2 separate regions of the Homo sapiens genome follow, and region 2 is linked to region 1. The links are contacts of gene promoters, found by promoter capture Hi-C in blood cells and fetal thymus (Javierre and others, 2016). All regions are on one chromosome and are shown on one strand. Each heading gives the region's core, a stretch centred on a gene start or on the middle of the fragment in contact. The rest is flanking DNA. Distances are from core to core; before and after follow the strand shown.

Region 1 (5,205 bases), core at 104-2,603:
CTTAGCAGAGCAAAGTGAATTGTACTAAACAATGCTCAGGAAGTAGTGGGGGGTGAGAGTGAGCTGCCACTGGCTAGCCTAAGGCATAGATGAAGAAGTGGAAAAGAAAAATAAAACAGCTGTGAGATAGGAGAGGAGACATCAAGGAAAAGGAAGGGATGGGATTGTGTATGTTGCAGGGAGATACATATGATAGAAGAATGTTTTCACTTTTATTTTATACCACCCAGGGCTGTGTGTGCTGCAGGTCTGAATGATTCCATATTTGTTGGGAAAATTAATTATTTGACCCTCTTTATGAGACACCGAATGCACAGATTTGGTCTCTGTGGCAAGCTTAGTATGGTTCTCAGCCTCAATGCAGAAACATTTACTTTTTCTGAGAATCTACTTAGAAGACATGGGTGGATTTGGAGGAAAAAAAATACTTGAAGAAGCTGGTCCTGAAGTATCTGCAGAAAAAAACAAGTGTCAAGTCCCTTTAGGATCGATAGAAGTGAAGACCTTCGAAATAGAATTGGAAAATCGGGGGAATAAAGTCTGAGAGATTTTCTGATGTGTGGTGAGAGCTCACCTGTGTAACTTATATTCCCATAGCCCTAAAAGAAAAAGGGAATGAAGCATTTGCTGAAGGCAATTATGAAACAGCTATCCTGCGCTACAGTGAGGGTTTGGAGAAGCTGAAGGACATGAAAGTGCTGTACACCAACCGAGCCCAGGTCAGTGAGGCAGGGATGTATCCATGGGGCTTTCTCAGGGAATAGTTGCCACTAAACTTGGGAAAACAAAGATGAGGCTAGATGTTGGGCTGGGAAATGTTTATAAGAACTGGCTCTTGTTTTAAGTGTGGGAGGAGCTGACTTATACACAGCATTTACCAGTTTCCATGATGCAAATATTCTCACCATGATCTAATTTGGAATCACTGCAGGAGGACTTGGGAAGAGCTGTCCATTATCAGCTCTCTCCATAGTATAAGTCAGCTCCATCATATCACTGATGGTGACCATGCACTTGTCCCTGTGGATAAAGGAGAAAACTAGTGGAATGAAATGACCTATGGGACCTTAGAATTCTGCTACCAACATATTTCTTCAGCCTCCTTTTTTGGTACTAGTCTTAACTCCTAGCGGATGCCCACCTGTTAGTTTCTCATTCATTGTATCAGTCTCTCTTTAAGATTCTGCGACAGGGATAAAGTGGATAGCCAATGGTCCTGGAGCCAATTTCTTGGAAATTTTGGGTTTCTGAAGGTTTTTATGCATTAGTATATGTCACAAATGAGCTCAATTTCCTGGAACACCAGGTAAAAACCACCCAGATGTTTATTTACTACTTAATGAAGGGATAGGCTGATAGCTCTCAACTGAAACAAAACCATCACCTGTGACCTTATCTTTGAAAAGTAGTTTAGTTTTTGTGTGGTAGAGTTCTCTGCTGGACAGGCCTGAAAAATTGGCAGATTCATGGACATGATTACCCCATGGTCAGAATATGTCAGCAGGACCTGTGTGAGGTGGACTTGATGCCCTGTCATTTGCAAGAGGGAGAGGCTCAGCAGAGTCCTCATCAGCTCTAATTTCCCTAACTCGAGTTTAAGAATGTCTGGCTCTGGGATGTTGAGGAAGAGGACTGGAAGCAAGAAACAGGACATTCGGAAGCCGAAACATATGGGGAGTGACAGTGACTTAATGATAAATAAATCCAAGCAGTATAATCTCACTAGTTTAGCAATTTGGATATGTTAGACTAGAGTTGAAGTGTCATTTAAACTATCCCAATTTTGGAGAAAACTTGTTATAAGGAAGTGAATCGGTAAAAAAGATGGCCAGAGGTTGATTTAGCAGTACATTGCATTACCCGAACAAGATTATAAACTTTTTGAGGGCAAAAACTGCCATATACTTTTTCCCCTAATGCTTTATTTATAGCAGATGTTCAATAAATCCTTTTTTAGTTACATAACGTTAAAAGCACAATAAGTCCAATTAAGGGAGTTAAGTTTCTGTTGACAATTCAGAGGCATCACTTAAATGCAAGCAATTAATAGAATAATTATAGTTCCTTCTTATTTATTACCAAATTTGGTCTCTAAAAACATCTGCCTACTGATGCTTATTCAGTTGTGTTACTCTGAAATTATTTGAAAGCAACAAAATTGAATTGCTTTAAAAAAGTTATATAATTTCAGACATATCTAATTCAGACTGTCTATACTCTGATTCATCTAAATTATATTTTCACTGCACTCATTTTTAAGCAGCACTTTGATTAGTTCTGAAGAATCACATTAAGAATGAATGTGGATAAATATAAGGAAATGTAATGAAAAGGTTTGAGGGAGTGATTCCTCTCAGCTTTCCCAAGGAGAAAGCTTATGCAGAGACAAAATAATGGACAATGTGCTCCCTGGTGTTACAAACCGTTTGAACCATTGACTATTTTTAAAATGCTTCCCCTGTATGCATGCAGTGTCAGAAAACACTTAATAAGGACCCTGTAAATTGAGTGTTGCTTGCTAGAGAGAAAACCTAACCTTTCATTGCTTTGTTTTTCCCCTGGAGTTAATGTTATGATCAATAGATTGCCGGTATAATTTAGATAAATCTGGAGTTTAATTGCTGTTTGGAAAAAGTAGTTCCTTTTTAAAATGTGCAAAAGCAAAAGAGATTGAGGAAGTTATAGGGTGTTTAATCCAAGCCTTAAGAGAGAAAGAAAAAAAAAAGTAAAAGGCTGTGTAGAGAAATTGTTGGAACCCATAAAGACTTCTTCAGAGTCTGCATGTATCCTAAATAATAGTGCCATGAAATCATGGCCACAGCTGTCTAGAATGATGCCAGCTTCCTCTTCACATCCTCTAATTTTCAAATGAAACCTGAGACCCTGGAGAAAAGGATGATGCTTTACAGAACAGATAGCTCAAAGAGTCGTCTTCTCTAATTAGTACAGAACATGAGTTAATGAAAGCACCACTCGCAGCTTCCTTGCTATGGGAGCCAAGAGCGGCATGATTTCAATTCATTTGCTGGCTGTTGCCTACTCCCTCCTCACTTGGGTTGGATACTTGGATTCCCTGTGAGTTGCAACATTGACCCCACAATTGGCTTGTCCATGTAAGTATCTCATGAGGTTCGTTGTTAAGATTGTGTTGCAGTGCCCTGGTACAGTTTTGATCATGGACAATCCTATGTGTAGTACTGGCTTTATTATTGGTTGCTGATGGAACCCTGGAAAAGCCACCACTCCTGGTGCTTGGCTATCCTTTCGTACAAATGGGATGATCGATGCTGCCTCTCAGGGAGCTTTCCAGAAGAAGAGTGCTTCAGAGTTACTTAGTGCAATTTGATAAGACTTTATTGACCACTTACTGTGTCCAGTAATTAATAGAGAGGTTATAGTAGCCATTGTGCTTGTTTATAGTCTTTCATTTGTTTATATTCCTCTAGTCCTTAGAAACATTGAACTAAGTTCTCAATCAGTTCAGTTTGAATGGATCACGGAATTCTGAGTCAATTCTTGATTTTCAAGATTTTCCCCAATTCTAGGGGATTCTAAAAGAGTGCCCCAGGCATTTGATACTAAGGCTTCATGGTGATGCTCTGACTCTCATATGTCACTCTACTTCTTTCATTTTTTTTTTCTGCTGTGCTCGGGAGGACAGAAGCAGAGCTTTATTATCTTTTGATAACAGCGTTATTGAGATATAATTCACATACCATACAGTTCACCCTTTTATAGTACACAATTTAATGGAATTTTAGTATAATCACAGAGTTGTGCAACCATCACAATCAATTTTTGAACATTTCATCATCATCCCCCAAAAAAGCTCCATCTTCAACTGTCAACTCCCCCAATCCTCCCATTACTACTCCCAGCCCAAGATAATCACCAATCTACTTTTTGTCTCTATACCTTTGTCTGTTCTGGACATTTTATATAAATGAAATCATACATTTGTCCTTTTATGACTGGCTTCTTTCATTTATCGTAATGCTTTTAAGATTCATCCATGTTATAGTATGTATCAACTCCTCTTCATTTCTTTTTATTGCTGAATAATTTTCCATTGTGTGGATATACCATATTTTATGTATCCCTTCATCACTGATGGACATTTGGATTGTTGCCTTTTGACTATCATGAATAATTCTGCTATGAACATTCATGTGTAAGCATTTGTATGGATGTATATTTATATTCTTCTTTGGTATATACCTAGGAGTAAAATTACTGGGTCATATGGTAACATATTTAACCTTCTGAAGAACTTCCAGGCTATCTTCCAGATGGGCTGTGCCATTTTAATGCCCACCAGCAGTGTATGAGAGCTCTAATTATCTGTCTTTTTTATCCCCTTTATCATTTGGTGTTTTTCTGGAACATTCACAGCAGGGTAGACTCCAGAATCCAGCTCTTCCTTCTTGGATGTGGCTAGTGAGCTGGGTATTTTCTCTGTCCCTCTAGATCCTTCCCTGCTTTGTGCCCTGGAGGGCTGACCTGTGTGGACTGGCTCCTTGGCTTCCTAGCCCTCTAGCTTCCATTTGCATTCAGCCAATAAAATGAGAAGGAAGGAGGAAAAGTGAGATTGGGGTATTTATTCTCCTGGCCTTCGGCTCTGGTGAAGGCCTCAGCTCATGTCAGGCAGTTCTTTTCGCAGAGCTGTCCTCCCACATTTTGTTCATTGCTCCCTCCTTCTGCCCCTTCCATTACAGCAGTGGTAATGGCTGTCCACTGTTGCTAGCCCTGCGATTCTGTAGCATCCCTTGTCAGGTTCCCTAAGCCCTGCCTTCACCGTGGAAGAGGTCCCTGTATTCAACTCTCCTCAGTTGCCCAGTGCAAGTGTGCCATCTGTTTCCTGGCAGGACCATGACTGATCCAGGTAGGGGATAGTTCTCGCTGACATTCTACTGTTCGAATGTTCTTTCTGTGTGAACTGAAAACTGCCTGATGCAGAATTGTGTGTGAATATCAGCTGTTGGTTTCATTACAGGCTTATATGAAACTTGAGGACTATGAGAAGGCACTGGTGGATTGTGAGTGGGCTCTCAAGGTAAGAGGGTATTTCTTTTCCCACATGATAGTGTTGGGCTGAAGTAGATAGAAGGCAGCTGCCAGTGTATCAAGATAGGAAAGGGTATAGCCTCTGTAGCCAGAGCTTCAGTTTCCTCATCTGTAGAATGGGATAGAATAGAATTGTTAGGA
Region 2 (5,205 bases), core at 1-2,500, 1.4 Mb before region 1:
CCAGTAAGGACTCTCCCGTCCTAGCTGTGGGGAGACTCACCTCTGAGAGTCCAGTGTCAAACCAGCTGGGTGCCCGCAGGAAGGAGGGTGGCCGAAGGTAGAAGGGACTCAGGGAAGTAGACGTCGGGAAAAGATCAGACTCCAACAGGTGCTCTCCGAAGAACTGGTCAAAGAGGCGGCTGGGGGAGTGGAAAGGAAAGAAGGGGCGGCGGATCCAGGGGTGGTGGATGGCGATGTCCATGGTGGCTAGGTGAGTGTGAGGGGTCAGCTGGCTGGTCAGCTCCTTCAGCTGCAGCTACAGCCAGCCCCTTATATATGCAGTCTTGTGAAGCTTCTGGAATGGTGATGTCAGGGGTTTTATTATCCTAGCTCACCAGCAGTTCATGGAGACTTGTGATCCGGGATTTGGCAATGTGACACATACCCAGTACTCACTGAGCTAAGAAAAGAGAGACACAAACACGTCTGAGCCGGCCAGTGACTTGTCATGGTCTTGTTTCACTAGCTTTCTGTCCACACCCAATGGCACCCACCCCCACCCCTGTTCTCTGAAGCTGGTACAGAGTCAGGAATCCCAAGCAGGCACGCGGGGTGGGGGGAGGATGGGAGCCGGCGTAGTGTGCCCCTCCTCCTCCTTTCCAGTCCTGAATGCCAGGGGAATCAGGCCAGCAACTATCTTGGGCCTGGGCAGGGACTGGAATCTTCCTAGGCTGAGCCCCAGGGACATTAACTCTTTGTGAGTCCTTGGAAGAGAGCAGTGATGGTCAACATGTCAGCACCAGCCATCTGCCTCGTGCCCTGGGTTGACCTGGGTTTAGGAGAGGATCCCACATCTGGGCAGAAAGACCCCACCCCCTGAAAAAAGAGCAAACAGATTTCTTGCATCTTTCGTTCTATGTGGCTCTCAGAACATTAAATCCAGGAGTGCTTTAGGAATTGGGTGCACAGTGCCTGCCACCGAAGAGGAGAAAATGAGGTGTGGAAACGTGCAAACCGTTTGTGAGGGTCTCAGCGAGGCCTCTTCATGCCCCAGGCACCACCAGCTCCCCCTCCCCAGCTCGTTCCCAGCCAGGACCCTCAGCTGTCCTCTCAGGCCCCCTGCGACAGCTGAAGAGTGTGCGGGGGAGGGGACTAGGGGTCCGGGCGGCGCTGGTCACACCCTCGTTGCTCTCACTCAGGGCCCCCACTCCCAGCCCCTCCCCCCCCAAGAGGCTCGGCACTATTTTGGGTGGTGTCGACCCCGCCCCCACCTCCTATCGAGCCCTGGCTCTCCGGGCAGCTGGAGGGGTCGCGCTGCGCCTGTTGGGGCTGCACCTCGGACCAGGGCTTCTGCTGCATCTGCAGCCATGTCGGGCCGCTCAGTGCCACATGCCCACCCGGCCACCGCCGAGTACGAATTTGCCAACCCGAGCCGCCTGGGTGAGCAGCGCTTCGGAGAAGGTATGGCACAGACACCACCCCCTTGCCCCCCACCCCCACCCCCTGAAATTCTGGGCTGACCTCCCAACGTTGCTGGCCTCCACCCCACTCTGGGCTTAACTGATCTCCTGGGACCAGCCACCCCCCACCCCAGACTACCCCTCATCCCCTCCAAGCAGAGATCTTTCCCATTCCTGCTGACCTCAAGACACACTTGGTGCTTGCAGTGCTGATACCTGCTCTTTGCCGGCCTGGGTGTGCCTCCTTGTCCCCCTTCTATCCACCCAGGCCGTTTGGTGCCTCCTCCTCCTCCCCCTCCTCCTCCTTCTCCTCCTCCTCCTCCCTTTCCTTTCCGTTCTCTTTCCCCTCTTCCGAGCTGCCTTCTCCTCCTAGCTACAGTGTGGCCTCCCTCCCGTTCCCTACTCCTCCTGACTCCCCTCTTGCTCTTCCCAATCCCTCCTCTCCAGATTTCCCATTTCGCCCCTGTGCCAGCCTCATCCTCCCTCATCCTGCCTCTTGCCTTCTCTCTGCCCTTTAGGCCTCCTGCCAGAAGAGATCCTGACCCCCACACTCTACCATGGCTACTATGTCCGGCCTCGGGCCGCCCCAGCTGGGGAGGGCAGCAGGGCAGGGGCCTCCGAGCTTAGGCTCAGTGAGGGCAAGTTCCAGGCATTTCTGGATGTGAGCCACTTTACCCCAGACGAGGTGACTGTGAGGACTGTGGATAACCTGCTGGAGGTGTCTGCCCGGCACCCCCAGCGCCTGGACCGCCACGGCTTCGTGTCCCGAGAGTTCTGCCGCACCTATGTCCTGCCTGCTGATGTCGACCCCTGGCGAGTCCGAGCTGCTCTCTCCCATGATGGCATCTTAAACCTGGAAGCACCTCGGGGTGGCCGACATTTGGACACAGAGGTCAATGAGGTCTACATCTCCCTGCTCCCTGCGCCTCCTGATCCAGAGGAAGAGGAGGAGGCAGCCATAGTTGAGCCCTGATTGCCACAGACCCAGCACCCAGCAAATCCCTCTCTACCTCCCAAGGTGATATGGGCAGCTGCCCACCACTCCAGAGGTAGCAGCATCCTTGGGGGAAGGGAAAGGTGCATGGTCCACAATGTATGGTTTGGTCCCATGGGACATGTCATAGCCTTGGTTTAGTTTTGGGTGGAGCTGAATAAACCCAAATCTCAGGGCCTTGTTTGTACTGCTCCCTATTCTGTGGCCGGGAAGCTGGGATGGGGAGGGAGGGAGGAGGTCACAGCCAGCTAGACAAAAAGCTCCTCAGTTTGATGTGCCCAACGTCATAGGACCCTGAGCTCGCACTTGGATGCTGAGATCACACCCGGAAGCTGACTCTGGCTCCAGATCAAATTCCTAGCCATAATTTTCTCACAATGCAACAAAAGAGAGAGTGATCCTGGGAGGGAAAAGGGATATGCCATCCAAACAGCCCAGAGGGCACTGTCTGAGCTGGTGATTAGAGACACAAAAACAAGGGTCTCCAGACTGTCTGGCCCTTTTTGGGTAGGGGCTGGGAAAATGGTTTTTGGCTGGTGAGAGTTGCCTAAAGTCCTGGAGTGAATACTTTGTTTTCATGTACTAAGGTCTGTCCACTTAAATGGTCACTGATTTTGAGAGCCTGAGTATGCATACACAGGGCACAGACACAAAGCCTCTCCAATTATCACGGAACCCCATTACCTTCCCATCCTCTGGGGGTACGGTGTATTCAGGAAAGCCTGAGGTCTGTCCCCTCAGTTATTCTCTGCAATCAAGAGAACATCCAGCTACATGATTTGGGGGAAGTGTCCAAAAGACCTTCCTGCCTCCAAATACATATTTCATTAGGCTGTGGTAGATACCTACAATTCTTCCATTAAAGCAGTTGTTTCTTGGCTGGGTGCAGCAGCTCACACCTGTAATCCCAGTACTTTGGGAGGCCGAGGCAGGAGGATCACTTGAGCCCAAGAGTAAGAGACCAGCCTGGGCAATAGAGTGCAACCTTGTCTCTACAAAAAAATAAAAATTAGCCAGGCATGGTGGTGCATGCCTGTAGTCCCAGCTACTTGGGAGGCTGAGGTGGGAGGATGAGCTAGGGAGGTTGAAGCTGCAGTGAGCTGAGATTGCGCCACTGCACTCCAGCCTGGGTGACAGAGTGAGACCCTGCCTCAAAAAAATTAAATTGAATTGAATTAAATTAAGTGGTTGTTTCTTAACTTTTGGGAGTTATAGACCCTTCTGAAAATCTGACAAAAGCTATAGCTGCTCTTACCAGAAAAATACATATGCTCCCAAATTTGGCAATACAATTTGAATAGGTTCCCACAACTCTTAAGACCCATTCACATACCCCCCTTAGGGATCTGTGGACCTCCAGGATAACAGAACTCACTTGAGGAATTCGACTTTTGGTTAAAAGATTGCTGTCTATTAAAAATGAAAGCATGCCCCAGAGAAATAACATTTGACATATTTAACTGTTCATTCATTCATTCAGTAAATATTTATCAAACCTCATGTAATACACCTTGGGGGATATACATTGTAAATATAAATTATAAAAACTATTAGCTTTTATTGTCAACTTTCCAGAATCTAGTTGAGAAGAAAAATAATAAGAAAAGGATTCTACTTAGACTTCAACCAAAATAGCTTCACATTGATATGTTTTGTAACTGAGCTTTATTTAAAGGAAAGGGTTTCCTAGCTATAAGAAATTTGAAAACTTCTGATTTAGTCCAAATCCCCTCTCCATTCAAATGCTTTTAAAGTTATTAATCAACTTATTCGGGGACATTCTGAATAACAGACAACTTAGAACTTCTCACGGTAGTCGTTTCCATGTTCTTTCTTTTCTTTTTTAGACAGGGTCTTGTTCTGTTGCTCAGGATGGAGTGCAGTGGCATGATCATGGCTCACTGCAGCCTCAACCTCCCTTGCTCAAGCAATCCTCCTGCCTCAGCCTCCTGAGTAGCTGGGACTACAGGTGTGTGCCACCACGCCTGGCTAATTTTTTACTTTTTCTGGAGATGAGGTCTCGCCTTGTTGTCCAGGCTGGTCTTGAACTCCTGGACTCAAGCAATCCTCTATCCTTGGTCTGCCACAGTACTGGGATTACAGGTGTGAGCCTCTGTACCTGGCCTTCCATTTTCTTTTTGGTCTTAACTGACTTAACCGTTATAAATTCCTCCTTTTGTTGAATCAAAATCTGCATTTCAGTAACTTCTCTGGAAAACAAACACAATGGTTTTTTCACTGAAAATCCTTCTGATATTTAAAGATAACCATCCTGTCTTCCTGAGGCTTCCCTTTCCCAGCTAAACATGCCTAGTTCTTTTTTTTTTTTTTAAGACAAAGTCTCTCTCTGTCACCGAGGCTGGGTGTACAGTGGTGTCATCTCCCCTCACTGCAACCTCCTCCTCCTGGGCTCAAGCAATCCTCCCACCTCAACCTCCTGAGTAACTGAGGCTACAGGCATGCGCCACAACACCTGGCTAATTTTTTGTAGAGACTGGGTTTCGCCATGTTGTCCAGGCTAGTCTTGAACTTCTGGCCTCAAGCAATCTGCCCACCTCGGCCTCCCAACACATTGGGGTTACAGGCGTGAGCCACCACACCCAGCCATGCCTTGTTCTTTCAACCATATCATACAGCACTTTCCACATCACATATTACCCAGATAACTTTATTTTGAACATACTGCCTTTTGACAACGTAACTTGAAATTCAACATCTAGACCTAAAATTATTATTCCAGTCATGGATTGACTGGTACAGACTTCAGTGGAA

What was found. The method cuts DNA at HindIII sites, captures the fragments that hold promoters and counts their contacts. A CHiCAGO score of 5 or more calls a contact.
Region 2: a contact is called between the fragment with the promoter of HSPB2 here and a fragment that was not itself captured in region 1, in 2 of 17 cell types (monocytes and neutrophils). The highest score is 5.7, in monocytes.

What each region holds. Positions count from the first base shown.
Region 1 is chr11:113,324,927-113,330,131 of GRCh38, forward strand. It overlaps TTC12 (tetratricopeptide repeat domain 12), which reads left to right. Exons shown (of 22, transcript NM_017868.4): 6 at 598-719; 7 at 4,994-5,053. Among named protein-coding and RNA genes, the nearest start is that of TTC12, 13 kb to the left of the region's middle. The HindIII fragment of the contact is 2,038 bases long and covers 335-2,372 here.
Region 2 is chr11:111,911,484-111,916,688 of GRCh38, forward strand. HSPB2 (heat shock protein family B (small) member 2) reads left to right here and starts at 1,251. Exons shown (of 2, transcript NM_001541.4): 1 at 1,251-1,440; 2 at 1,958-2,610. The coding sequence starts at 1,347. The coding sequence ends at 2,412. It overlaps CRYAB (crystallin alpha B), which reads right to left and starts at 287. Exons shown (of 3, transcript NM_001289808.2): 1 at 41-287. The coding sequence starts at 241. HSPB2-C11orf52 (HSPB2-C11orf52 readthrough (NMD candidate)) reads left to right here and starts at 1,253. Exons shown (of 5, transcript NR_037651.1): 1 at 1,253-1,440. RefSeq lists an enhancer at 2,002-2,655. The HindIII fragment of the contact is 6,880 bases long and covers 330-5,205 here.